2 separate regions of the Homo sapiens genome follow, and region 1 is linked to region 2. The links are contacts of gene promoters, found by promoter capture Hi-C in blood cells and fetal thymus (Javierre and others, 2016). All regions are on one chromosome and are shown on one strand. The core of a region is centred on a gene start or on the middle of the fragment in contact, and the rest is flanking DNA. Distances in the headings are between cores, read along the strand shown.

What was found. The method cuts DNA at HindIII sites, captures the fragments that hold promoters and counts their contacts. A CHiCAGO score of 5 or more calls a contact.
Region 1: a fragment that was not itself captured here is called in contact with the fragment with the promoter of PAQR8 in region 2 in 3 of 17 cell types (M0 macrophages, monocytes and M2 macrophages); the score reaches 6.9 in M0 macrophages.

The regions. Positions count from the first base shown.
Region 1 is chr6:52,683,783-52,691,072 of GRCh38, reverse strand. It overlaps TMEM14A (transmembrane protein 14A), which reads right to left. Exons shown (of 5, transcript NM_014051.4): 4 at 6,908-6,995; 5 at 4,485-5,063. The coding sequence ends at 5,024. It also overlaps the pseudogene GSTA8P and the pseudogene SREK1IP1P2. Among named protein-coding and RNA genes, the nearest start is that of TMEM14A, 16 kb to the right of the region's middle. The HindIII fragment of the contact is 2,362 bases long and covers 4,717-7,078 here.
Region 2 is chr6:52,359,227-52,365,825 of GRCh38, reverse strand. It overlaps PAQR8 (progestin and adipoQ receptor family member 8), which reads right to left and starts at 3,675. Exons shown (of 2, transcript NM_133367.5): 1 at 3,577-3,675. RefSeq lists silencers at 3,423-3,912, 4,086-4,271. The HindIII fragment of the contact is 8,624 bases long and covers 478-6,599 here.

The DNA of each region.
Region 1 (7,290 bases), core at 4,648-7,147, 320 kb before region 2:
AACAGATTAGAAGCCAGGTCTCTTAACTTCTAGAAGACTTTCTGCCAAATCAAGCTGACTTTAAATTATATGTTAGGTGTGTCCTTCATCTTCTACCTTTTCCTTATTAACCATCATGCAGGCACTGAGAGACCACAGACAAGATTTTCTTGTGGGCAATCGGCTGAGCTGGGCTGATACACAGCAACCTGAAGTCATCTTAATGACTGAAGAGTGCAAACCCAGTGTCCTCTTGGGCTTTCCTCTGCTACAGGTAATGCTATCCAAATAGCTCCCAAGAACTGCAGGGAGAATGAATTTGTATTATCCACTTATTCTTTCATTCAGTCATTCACCATCATTTATGAACCTACTAACTTCTTTATGCCAAGGCCTGTGCTAGAAATACAAAGATGCCCTCAAGGCAGCTATCTCCTGGTGAAACCAAGCATACAGACCGGTAACTTCAATATAATGTGGTAAACTAAAACGTAACATGATAAGAGAAAGCAGATGTCTTGAACTCCTGGGCTCAAATGATCCTCCTGCCTCAGCCTCCCAAAGTGCTGCGATTACAGGCATGAGCCACTGCACCTGACCCATATTACATTATAAACATGTTTTAACATTGTTAGTCTGCCTCATTTCTTTACAATGTAGTCTATTTTTGAAACTTTTCTTGATTATATGTATATTCCATTTATTGTGTTCAGAATAACCTTTTTTAACAAGAAAGAAATATTTTAATTGTTACAAAAACAAAGGAGGCAGATACTAGAAACTCTGCATTTCATAAAACAATGAAACTTTGTTTAAATGTTTTCATGATCATCTTTCCGCAGACACCATTCATTTTAAAAGTCCTAGTCAAGACCATTAAGCAGCTTCATCTTCTATATTAAAAAAAAACCCGAGACTTAAAAAACAACAGTAAAGAATTTCACTATCTTTATATATTACATCTTATAAAGCTATTAAATTTTTCAGTGTCAAGAGTGAAATATTACCCCATACCTCGCTTCATCACTAGAAGGTGGACACCTGATTGAGCAATACTCATTAACTGCTAGGTAGATGAACTGTGTTGACTGTAGTAAAGCCATTTTACAATCAACTTAGGAAGTAATAACACCAGCCAAACACAGAGACACAAACATCAAAAATGATATGTTTAGTATGTACAAATAGCTATACTTGGGGCATGGCTATCAAGTAACAAGACTGATTTAATACTTTACAGTCATAGCACATTAAAAATATATTGCCAGAGGGATAATGGTCCCACACATCAAAAATGTCTATATAGAAAAGGCTGTGATTTATTGCAAAGCATAATATATAGCAAATTCCAAGGAAGGGCAAATAATTTTTAAACAAATCTTTAAATTTAATGGCTTAAGCCAAAGCCTCAGTTACTTTTTGGAGGATTCATAACAAGTAGGGGTTGAAGAATGCTTTTCTTTTTTTCTGTTTCTTTTTTTTTTGAAATGCAAGTCTCGCTCTGTTCCCCAAGCTGGAGTACAGTGGCACGATCTCGGCTCACTGCAACCTCTGCCTCCCGGATTCAAGCGATTCTCCTGCCTCAGCCTCCCGAGTAGCTGTGACTACAGGTGCACACCACCATGCCTGGCTAATTTTTGTATTTTTAGTAGAGACGGGTTTCACTATGTTGGCCAGGCTGGTCTTGAACTCCCGACCTCAGGTGATCGCCTGCCTCTGCCTTCCAAAGTGCTGGGATTACAGGTGTGAGCCACTGCACCTGGCTTCCTTTTTTTGATTTACTTTTTCTTTTTTTTTTTTTCTTTGAGATGGAGTCTTGCTCTATTGCCCAGGCTGGAGTGCAGTGGTGTGGTCTCGGCTCACTGCAACCTCCACCTCCCAGGTTCAAGTGATTCTCCTGCCTCAGCCTCCCAAGTAGCTTGGATTACAGGCACCTGCCACTATGCCCGGCTAGTTTTTTTTTTTTCCTGTATTTTTAATAGAGACAGGGTTTCACTATGTCGGCCAGGCTGGTCTCAAACTCCTGACCTCGTGATCCACCCACCTCAGCCTCCCAAAGTGCTGGAATTACAGGTGTGAGCCACCACACCCAGCTTTTTTTTTCTTTTCTTTGTTCTGATATTTTTGTTTCTTTTGAAATGTCCTTTTCAGTGGAACTGGATGAATAAGACCTTTTCCTTTTTTAAAAAAATTGCTTTTCTCTTTGCTTTTTCTTCTCCTCTTCATTTATTCTTTTTTTCCAGTAATGCTTGCAATTTATTCATTCTTCATTTTATTCATCAATCTTCACTGTTTGCACTGCTGACATCCAAAACTATGTCCCTTTGGGGTCTACTTGGAGAAAGTTGCAGCATTCAAAAGTCAGGTGACCAGGAAGCCATATTTTTTACAGCCTGCTCTGACACTGTCCTTGTTGCAACCTGGGACTGCCATGATGGTGGTAAGAGGGGTCGCTGGAGACTCTGGCTTTCTAGAACACGCTTGCTTCCCATTAGCTGTGAGGACGAGGCACCGCCAAAGTGGCCACTTTCACCCATGCCACAGCCTAACCTGATTTTAAATAGTGAAAATCATAAACAACTTAAATGTCTAATATTAAACTGAGAAACATCTATATAAATGAGGATATGTTCATTGGATAGAATTCTATGCAGCCACTTAAAGTTTTCAAAGATTACATAACATGAAAAATGCTTCTGGTATAAGAAAAATGAGGACTTCTCTTTATTGTATACCAGGATGCTTTAGAATGTTTGTTTTTATAAATAGTGTTGCAACAATATCTTTGTAGGTATAGATTTTTCCACATTTAAGATTACATCATTAGGACACAATTTTTAAAATGGAATCACTTCGTAACAGCCTATGAACGTTTTTGTGGTTCTTGAGAAATATTGCTAACTTGCAAAGTGGCAGTATCACTTTGCAATGTCCACAATGTATGAAAATCCCAATTATCCCCCACCTCCACCAGAATGTGGCTCATTTGCATTTTACTTTGTTTTGTTATATTCTTCTCTCTTGGATAGTATTCTTTTGCATTTTAGAAATTCAAGGCCAGAATCAGCCACATCCCCACAATTAATAAATTTCTCCAACCTGGAAGCCAAAGGAAGCCTCCACTGGATGAAGAATCCATTGAGACTGTGAAGAATATATTTAAATTTGAACATGGCCTGTTTCTTAAAAACATGAGCACTACAGTAGCTGAGTATTAACAAATGAAACAAAGTCTAAGAAACGTAGTAAATATTTCACTATGCATTGGTAGCAGACCCATAAAAATATCATAAAGCCACATTAATGTAATAAAGTAATAAGACATGAGGAAATAAACTGCCTAATACCTGTAAGTTACAGAGCCTCTTCTACTTTTCATAAAACAAGAAAACACCAATTAATCAGAGCCATCCAAATATGAATCCTTCTGGATTCTACGTATTGCAAAAGAGTAAAATCACAAATATGCAAATGGATGCCAAAGATTTCTTTAAAAACAAAACAAAAAAAGCACACACATCACTATCATTCACTTCTATGACCTTTTGGGAAAAGTCCAGGGAACAGCATAGCTTCAAACCAGTTTCTTAAACTTTGAATCACTAGAGTATTCTGCAGACACAGCATGTATTTCTAGGATCAATTTCACAGTTAGTTTCTACTTCAGTATCGTAATCAGTTTTGACTATAAGCTGCTGTCAGTCTGAATCTGAAGGTTCTCCTCAGTCATCTCTGACAGCTAGCAAGTGAGCAGAGCACCTCAATGATGACGGCTTTTTCCAGCCTTGCCTGTGGTAACAACCTCTTTGCCACCATTAGGATTTATGGGATTTTCTTTCTTCTTCTTTAAATTGGGATTTTTTTAAGTACATCAAATAATTTTATCTAGATTTCCTATTCGGTTCAACTGGTACAGCTTTTTTCTTCCCTTAATTGAATTACTTATCACTGAAAGTTTAACAACCTCCTTGAAAGTCAGTTGGGAAAGGTAACCAATCTAACAGAACCATATGAACTCTGCCGTTATCAGTTGAGGACCCTACGCTTTCACTTAAAGAAAGGGTTTGAAGTATGACACCACTGCACATAACCAACAGGATAGGAACTGTAGATTTTTAGAGCTCTAAAGGGTTGATCATTTAGTTCAATTCCTCCTTAAGAATGAGAAACTGAGTCAGAGGAAAAGGAAATGACCTTCCAAAGAGCATCAAGTGGGTGGAAGAATTGGGCTGGGATTCAGGTCTCCCGATGTTCAATTTGGGCCCTAAAAGTGCCTTGGACATTAAAAGTTATAACTATGCCTAAAAATAAAGTGGTAATTTGAAACAAAATCAGTTTGTTTCAGAATCGTTACTCTTTCAGAGAGAAAAAATATCTACGCCTCAGGAAGTAGAATGTTGGCTTAAATAAACCCTCCTTCTCAACCCTTTTCGTTAATAATTGAATATTTAAATGTCAAAGATGATTTGAGTATTCAGAGGAAAAACTGACATGAAAGAAACAGGTTTGAACCAAAATGTCTTTTATTTGAATACTGAATACATTCAGTTAGGACATAACAGTGTGCTAAGAATAAAATTTTTTAAAGAAAAAAATAGCACTGGCAGCAATACAATTAAAATGGAAAAAGCATAATTTCTAATAATTTCAAATATAACACAAATGACAAATAGATACATTATCATTCTGTGAACTCCACTTAAGACTTCCTTTATGTGACAAGTTGTAGTTTAAGCTTACTTGAGACATGAGTATTTGGAATTTTCAAAAAATACCAAATATATAAAAAATAGACACAACAAATGGAAGAGTATATCATGATTCATTAGACACTTTTAATGAAAATAGTGCTTGACAATTAGAAAACAGTTAAAATTTTTGCTTTAGAAAAAAACTACCTCAAACTAATGTTCATATTAGAGGTGACAGTGCTATTTGTGTTTCTAGCATTCCATATTGAAGTTTATCTTTTAAATACAAAAAAAATATGCTCTGCCCATTACAGCAGGATGACATGAACTTAGTTTTCTGTTCCTCCAGATGCTCAGAGCAGCAACAAGACAAGTCTCAGGATCATCATGAGGCTGGATTTAAAATAAAACAAAGACAAAGGGAGAGTCACTTTTATCTGGCATAAGACAGAAAGGGCCATGCACTCGCCTACCCAGTAGTGTTACTAATCCTTGGCTTGGGGGCTCTCCCAGCTCAACCCCTTGGAGGATTAAAACATCCCAGACATAACTGAATTAGCCACTTTAAAATGTTCGCTAAATGAATAAGGAAAAATCAGAACCTGTTGTTCTGAAAACCTTGGATGAGGGTTTATAAGAGAAAGGTTTGGGAAGAAACAAACTTTCAGAAGCTAGTAAAATAAAGCAACTTGAAAAAATAATCGAGGACCAACTTGGGGCAGTTACTAATTCAATCTCAGCTACTTTCTATTAACTGAGGCCTTCTTCCGGATCCATAAACCCTACTTCATTTTTTCTTCCTTTTTTTTTTCTTTTTTCTGATGGAGTCTCACTCTGTCACCCAGGCTGGAGTATAGTGACGCAGTCTCGGCTCACTGCAACCTCCACCTCCTGAGCTCAAGCAATTCTCCTGCCTCAGCCTCCCAAGTAGCTGGGATTACAGGTGCCCGCCACCACACTTGGCTAATTTTTGTAGAGATGGGGTTTTGCCATGTTGGCTAGGCTGGTCTTGAACTCCTGACCTCAAGTGATCCACCCGCCAAAGCCTTCCAAAGTGCTGGGATTACAGGCATGAGCCACCGCACCCAGCCCATAAACCCTACTTCTGATTCTTCCCACCACCAAGTATCACTTTTAGAACAGGGCTATAACTGGAAAGCTGTCTTTTGTAATCACACTCCTCCTCCCCTCCCTGAAACATAATACATAGTCACACTAGAAAATTCTACACAAAAGTAGAAAGAGGAACATTACAATTATTCATCACACTATCACCCACAGAAAAACACTAACAGCTTGAAATATTTCCTTCCTGTTTTTTTATACACAAACTTTTTTTAATCACACTATATGTGGTTGTTTTCATCCTGTTTTTATACCTTATTATGTCACTAAGATTTTCCAATGCCACCAAATCATTTTTGAAAACATAAAAATGTAATGCTCATTCAATATTCCATTAAATGGACAAAACATTTTTTCAAACATCTCCTTACTGGTGAACTGTTAGGTTGTTCCTAATTTTTCAGTCTATTGTGTTTTCACTAGAAATAAAGTTGCAATGAACATCAGTCTTTGTGCATATCTCACTGCTTTGGAATAAATTCCAAAAAGTGAAAATGTCTATCAAAGGAAATAAACATGTTTATGGCTTTCAACATATAAAGCCAGCTTTCTGGAGAAATTTTTAAAATGTTATCTCTAAATTTTTATTTGGTAATATGCTTAATCTCATGGATAGAATTACTGGATCAAATTAAGAGAAACTTGAGGCCCTCTGTTTATCTTTTAAAAAATATTAAAACTTCTCTCTTAAAAACTCTTAAAAATATTAAATTTCTGTCCCTTAAAAACTTGAAATAACTGTATCACACTGTCACTCTGTCAAACTCTCTAAAAGGGACTGAGTATTAGATTTAAATGAACACATTTAGTGTTGCAGATGGGTGAATCTTGAGGAAAAATGAGGCTGAGTTTAGTTAGCTCTTTCTTCTGAAAAAGGCAAGTATGCCTATGTGACCAGATACTACAGCAACACTATGCGTATCCAATAAGAATGTTCATGGGTACATCAATATCAAAGACCCACTGAATCCATGCTATCTTAAGGTTTTTACTGTCATGCTTATTATAACAAAAAGGACTTTGATCTTTCAAATTAAAATTGATGTTTCCCAAAAATTCAGCACTTCAAAACAACAGCAGAGGAAAGTATTGATCAAAATAGTTTTACTTACCTTAAACCTGCAACCAAACCAGCAGGCATTATTTTCTTGGACCTCTTAAATCTCACACCCATTATGGTAGCCAGGAAGAAAGCTGTAACTGAAAACCAAACTAATTCATGAACCAGAGTTTCAAACATGTTATCAATGCTTGTGGGAAAACAGCGGGTACCATTTAAAGCTTTCTAACATTACAACTATTATGGATAGGTACTGAGTTGCCATTGTCTTGAAAAGATAAAGTGCTCTATTAAAACACTTCATGGCCGGGCCAGTGGCTTACGCCTATAATCCCAGCACTTTGGGAGGCAGAGATGGGTGGATCACCTGATGTTGGGAGTTTGAGGCCAGTCTGACCAACATGGAGAAACCTCGTCTCTACTAAAAATACAAAA
Region 2 (6,599 bases), core at 2,426-4,925:
GAAAGTAACTGGGAGCACTGACTCCACTTATTTGGAGTCTGTATTTCCTCGTTTCTGAATAAATAAAAAATAACTAATTGTCGTTGCTTTTCAGGTTACCCTTTAAAAACTCTTAAAAGACCAGGAGGGCAAAAACCAAAATGTTCTATTTGTAGTTAGTTGCAAAACCTAACTGAAGGGAATATCATTACCTGGGAAATGATAAATTTCCACATGGCTTCAAAGGAATTTTAACATAAGACTATCAATAAATAATATTCCTAACAAGAATAAGTAGACTCTGTTGAGCACTCATGATGTGTCCGGCACCGAACTCAAGTGTTCTACACGCATCAATGTTATTTCATCTTCATCACAGCCCCATGAGGTACATACTCATTAATATCTTCATTTTAAGAAAACTGAGGCCAAAAGAGATGAAACAACTTGCCCCAAACCACAGCTAGATCAAGATTCAAGCTGTGGCTGTATGAAGCTTTATGCAACACAACCTGAAAAAAAAAATGCGAATTTTAAAAAGGGATATGTTCAGTACATTTTTTACTGTGTGCCATGAAATCCCAAAGTTGAAATGAATGTTCAGAAATCATTCTCTTCCCTTTACTTCTGTGGATCCTTTCACATCAAAAATCAAGCACCAGGCATTACCTACAGCTGGGGCAAATGGCTTTCTGGGTACCTTTTTTTTTTTGGTGAGACAACAAGTCTTTTGTATTTTTGTTTTGCTTTCTGTAAAAATCCACAATGACAGAGACTGCCTAGTAACAAGTATCAGGAGGGGCAAAGAAAGGCTTACTTTTTCTAGCCCAATAAGCCATAAGCTATAACAATAAAGTGACAGGACCAATTACTTTACATACATACCAGAGCATAAACACCAAAATGAAGGTTGTGCTTCAAAGTAGTTAAGTTTTTGAGGAGTTAAATGTTGTACTCAAAATTTCCACTGTGGAGATGATGGGAGCCCCTAACCCCGGTGTTATTCAGGGACCAACTGTAATTCCTTCCAATCCTAAATACATACTCCATGCCATTACTAAATGCCCCTTTTAGAACTGCCAGTCTTTCAAGAGAATTTTCATTACTTTAATGAGCATACTTATTGACAACCTCGATTCCCCACCTCGGAAGCCCAAGTTGGCCCCGCACAGTGCCTGGCTGTTTCCCAGCTGAGGAAGGTTTGCCACCACTGAGGCAATCAGGAAATGTGTTGCAAACTCGGAAGGCAACTCCAAAGCAGGAGCTCCAAAATTATTCTCAGTAGTGACAGCATCACTAGAATTAGTACACAGCTTGCCAAGAGCAGGCTTTTGAAGGGGAGAAATACTGATTTGAATGTATAAATACTGGCATATTTATTTTAACATTTGGATAAAGAATTGGAAGCATCAGCAAGTGTTACGTCCAAGTGAATAAGTACACTGCTGCAGGAATGATAGTGCAGATTTTGATGCAAGGTCCTGACCACTCAATAAGGTATACACACACCCTTAATGGAAATATGCTTATCCTGAAATGATTCTTGTAAAATGAATAAATCGCTTTCTATCCTGTTAACTTGCATAATTATTAAAGATTTCCTTTTCATGAATTAAAAACAGACCCAACAAATGCTAGTTGCCAAAATAATCCTTGTTTATCCAATGAAGCTCAAATCTCAGTGTGTGTCAGAAGATGGACCTATATGCACCAGAAGGAAATCTGGTGCATACACACACCCGCAAAAAAAAAAAAAAAAAAAACATATCTTTCAATGGATATATCCACTTAATAAGATTCCTCTACTCTGGGTCTTCCAGAATTGGTTGTTACGCCAAATAACTGAAATAATTACCATACATAATTAACAATACAAGATGGGTTAATGTAAGATAGTCAACATTTAACTAATAATTGAAGGACACGCACCCAAGGACAAACAGCAGAAATAAAAAACAAAAACAAAAACAAAGCCATGCCTTGGTCCTTTGTTTTTAGATACACACTTGGATACTCATCCACTGAGGTCCTAAGCAGTCTGGCTCCCTTCCAGTTGACCTGGTCAAGGGTGCAGCAGCTCAGGGCTGGGTACACGTTGTGGATAACCTTAACAGGGCAGTCAAGGGCAGTCTACCTTCCATGCAGGCAACTCCTATTAACTTCAGTAACAGGAGTCTTCACTGACAAGCAAATACTCCCAAACTGTACAATACTCTCATGTTTAACTCGACTGGAATGCAGTGCGTTTGTGGACATTGTTTGGTGTGTGTATTTGTTGTGGATTTTCCTCGTTTTTACCCAGAAACAGCTTCTCAGAGTACTGGAACAAGTAGTACACACGTGGGTCTAAAAATCACACATACAGTGTATTGTATGAGTTATCCCTAAGGCGCGCACACACACGGGTAGGTATTACCTGTACATTTGAAATCTCACTCCATAACTAATTTTTTTAGCCCAGGCTCTTCTCATTGGGTTCCTGGACAAAATCATTTCTAACCCAGCTAAGAAATATGGAATGCAACTTAGGTCAAGACAATGAGCCTGCCAAGGCTCCTGGACTTCCCACTAGTCTGCCAGTGCCTGGAGCACCCACAGCTGCACAGGAAGCTGCTGTGCCCGGCTACCTCCAGGTCCCCGCACCGGGTCGGCAAGGTGCAGCAGCCCCCAAACCCAGGCTCCGAATATTCCCCAAGCGCGCTGAGTGCGAGGTCCCCACCCGCCTCCGTCTGGGGATGCCCGGTCTTGCTCCCTAGACTAGATTCCCTCTCGAGTTATCTACGACCCTGTTCCACCGAGGGCGCTGCGTTCTCATAGCCTAGACAGACGTTCCCAGCGTTCCAGCCCCACCAGCCACCTCCGACACCCCACCGCGGCGTTCCCATCCAGCCAAGCCCCAGCATCCGCCCATTAGCCAGCTGCCGGCGGTTCCCATCACAACTCCGCTCCTCGCGCCCACCCTCTCAGAGAAGCCCCCTCCATCTTTCCCCGGCGAAAGCACATGCCTAGACCCACCCTACTCTTTCCGGGGTTCCCCTACCTCGGGCTGCCCTTCCTCGGGCTCTCCCTACCGCCCCGGGCTTCCTCTCCTCCGCACTCCCCTCCCAGGTTCCGTTCCCCTCCGCCCTGCGGAGGGCGCCCCACAAATGCGGACAGGACGCCCCTCGTTCTGCCCTGTCGGACTCCCCCACGTCTTGGTCCTGAATCTCCCGCCCTCCGGGCTCAGCCTTCCCAACATCGCGGTCCCCACACCCCCGCCAGCTCTCCAGGCTCAGGCTCCATGACTCCCCAGCATCGCAGTCCTGGCCACCCCACTACAGCCGTTCAGAGCTCCAGGGCTCCCCAGCATCCTAACCCGTCGTCCCCCCTTCCGGGCTTGGATTCGGAGACTCAACATCGGGGCCCTAAACTCCGGCCCCTGGCCTCAGGTTCCCAACGCTGCGACTCTGGACCTCCCCTCTGAGCTCGGGGTGCGAGGACTCCCCAACGCCGCGATCCTGACGTCCCCGCCTCCCGAGCTCGGGCCCCGGGGCTCCCCGACCTCGCGGTCCCAATACCCAACTCGACCCGTTCCGCGCCTCCCGCGGCGGGACTCACCGGCAGGGGCGGCGGCCGAGCCCGTGCGCGTAGCCCAGCCCGGCCCAGCCCGCGCTCCCGCCTCGGGGTCCCGGCCACGAGCTTCCCGCGGGTGGCTGTGACCGCGGCGGGCTCGGCTCGGGGGAGCGGCCGGGAGGAGGAGACCGCCGGGGGCGGGTGACGCCCAGCTCCGCCCCTTCCCGACCCGGGGGCGGGATGCGCAGACCCGCGCGCTCCGCTGCAGCCCGCGCCGCTGCCGCCGCTGCGAGGAAGTTGACTGACGCCGCTTCCTTCCACCCAGGACGCAGACCCTCGCAGTCCCTGGTAGCTGCAAAAAATCCGGAGAGTTTGAGACAGAGACGCCTTAACCGCCCTCATATTCTTTCCAAGAATTCACCTCTCAGGGGGCCATTTCCGAAGTCCCTCGGGAAGGGCGGAAAACAATAACAAACTTCATCTGCGCTGTCAAGACTGATTTAAATCCTGGCCTTTCTCTCACCACTCTCGGGTGAACGTTCAGGGTCATGCCCATGATATAAATAATGTGATGACATACCACGGAGGCCCTTGCAGACACTTCCACACCCCTAAGATACACCCGCCCAAGACTCGCGCCTCTCCCATGACTACATCACACAGACACATCTGACACTGACCTGCAGAAGATCCCACTTCTACCCTGTGTCCTCAATCCACAGCCTTCGTGGGTCCCAGCAATAGCGACCCACACATACAATCTATTGGAGGCAGGGTGCGGGGGTGGGTTCCACCTCCCGACTTGCTCCTCACCCACAATGTTCTCGGTATTTTACCATGAGAAAAAGACAGTTAAGAAGTTGGATGATCAATTAACAAATCAAGTTGGCTTTGCTTTTAAAAAGCCTTCTTCATTATCTGGAGAAAAGAGAAGGCCTGGGAAGATGGCCTGCTTACTGTAAGATTTTGTCAGACAGGCCTAATTCTGGTCTGCTTACTGTAAGATTTTCTCAGACGGCCTAATTCTGGTCTGCTTACTGTAAGATTTTCTCAGGCCTAATTCTGGTCTGCTGGTTCCCAAAACTTCTCTTATACCACCGTGTTTCAGTGACATGTTGCACAACATCTCACATTTGTACAATGTTTCCATTTTTCAAAACATTTTAGCCGAGTGTGATGGTTCACACCTGTAATCCCAGAACTTTGGGAAGCCAAAGTGGGCAGATTGCTTAAGCCCAGGAGTTCGAGACCAGCCTGGGTAACAAGGTGAGACCCTGTCTCTGCAAAAAATACAAAAATTAGATGGGCGTGGTGGCACACGCCTGTAGTCCCAGCTACTTATTCTCAGGCAAACATCACGAAGCAAAGAAAGTAATCTTAGCAGGATTATTTCAGTTCCATAAATGAAGACATTTAGACTCTGAGCAGTTGCACGGCAGGTTTGAAGCTGAGTCAGAGCCAGGAAAGAGCCCAGGGGCCTGTCTTTAGAGCCACTGATCTCCCCAGGGAATCATAGTCCAGCACTTACTTATAGGTGGATACTAGTGGAAATGTCACAGGAGGTCTTTGGCAGCTTTGCTCCCTCCATCTCTTCTTCACCCCAAAGATGTCAGGGAACTCTCCCTTAACCTCAAAAACCCGGGCTCTCCTTTATCGTCAAAAACCTATGATAGGCCAGAGGTCACAACCGTACAAGAGGGCTTATTGAGAGGGAGTGAAAACTCCTTCCACTTTGGGCCACTCTAGAAACAAAATTACAGGTTAGCACATCTAAAAGCCTATCCACAGCCTTCATCCAACTAACGTGAGCTGTCAGCCGGGAGCTGATGAGCCTCCGAAATGCATTGCTGATTATTTTTGCAGTGTTTTTCTCCCTAACAGTTAATCCATGTGGAATGTGAAGAAGTCTTAAAAGGAGACTAACAAGGCTTCTAATTCTTTCTCAATGGTAAATGTTCCTTTCTTCTTGCCCTTTATCCAAAAGGCAGATGTGAACGTGCATGTAAAGTGTAATGGGTGTCAGGCATTGTTATCTGTGCATGAGGCAGTTCTGTTTCCAAGTGACGCTGTCCAGAGCCACTAAATAAGAATGGTGGTTCTCATCCTTCATGCCTTTTAAAACTACCTTGGTCTCAAGCTAGCTTCTTTTATTTTCTACTGTGAGGTAATGGCCTACTTCCGTTTGGGCAGTAAAAGTGATGTTTTGGTAACACTGGAAAAAGTCCTAGGGTGACCTGGCTATTTTTGAATTATAATAAAAGCCTGTTGGGTCCTTCATAAAAGACAGTTAGGATGGCCTTTGGTATATGGAAATTCACAGCCAACTTTCCTCTATGTAATAATCCCATCTGGCAACACAATTTTGACCTGAGATTTTTCCAAAACCTGGAAACAGCCAAGATCTTGGGTACTGCAGTATTTCCTCAATAAGGAGAATGCTAAACTGCGAATCCAATCAACACGTATCAGACCTAGTTCCCTTTCAGATTGCCCTTGAAAGCCACAGACACAGGCAGTATGCAAAATGATGAAAAAATAGATAAGATTAAAGAGTTATTTTTGTCCGAATCTCTAATAAAATAATTTGATCTATTTTACATTGGATACATACCACATTGACACTGTTTTTATAAACACTCTACTTTGTGTTTACATATCACTTTTCCAAGAAGCTCAAAGTATGTTTGATGACATCATATTACTCAACTTCATACACTTATATGAAGTAGGAAAGGGGTAAAAACTGGTAGTCTTATTGTAACATGGAGAAATGGAAGTGTGAAATAGTTAAAACCACTTGCCTGGAACATTCTGGTATATATACTGGTTTATACTAAAAGTAGACCTGTTTGTGAAAACTGCTACAGTGAAGAGTTATTTAAAAGCTGTACTATTTTTGTTTTCTTTTTATATCTTATGAAAGGACTGAGGACTATTAATTTCTTCACTATCTTGTCAGAGAAAAGGAGAGGCACTTTGCATAGTGGTTAAAAGTGTGGCCTTGGGAGTAAGAGCCTTCAGTAGGTAACTTAACTTTTCTTCTTCCTTTTTTTTTTTTTTTTTGGAGA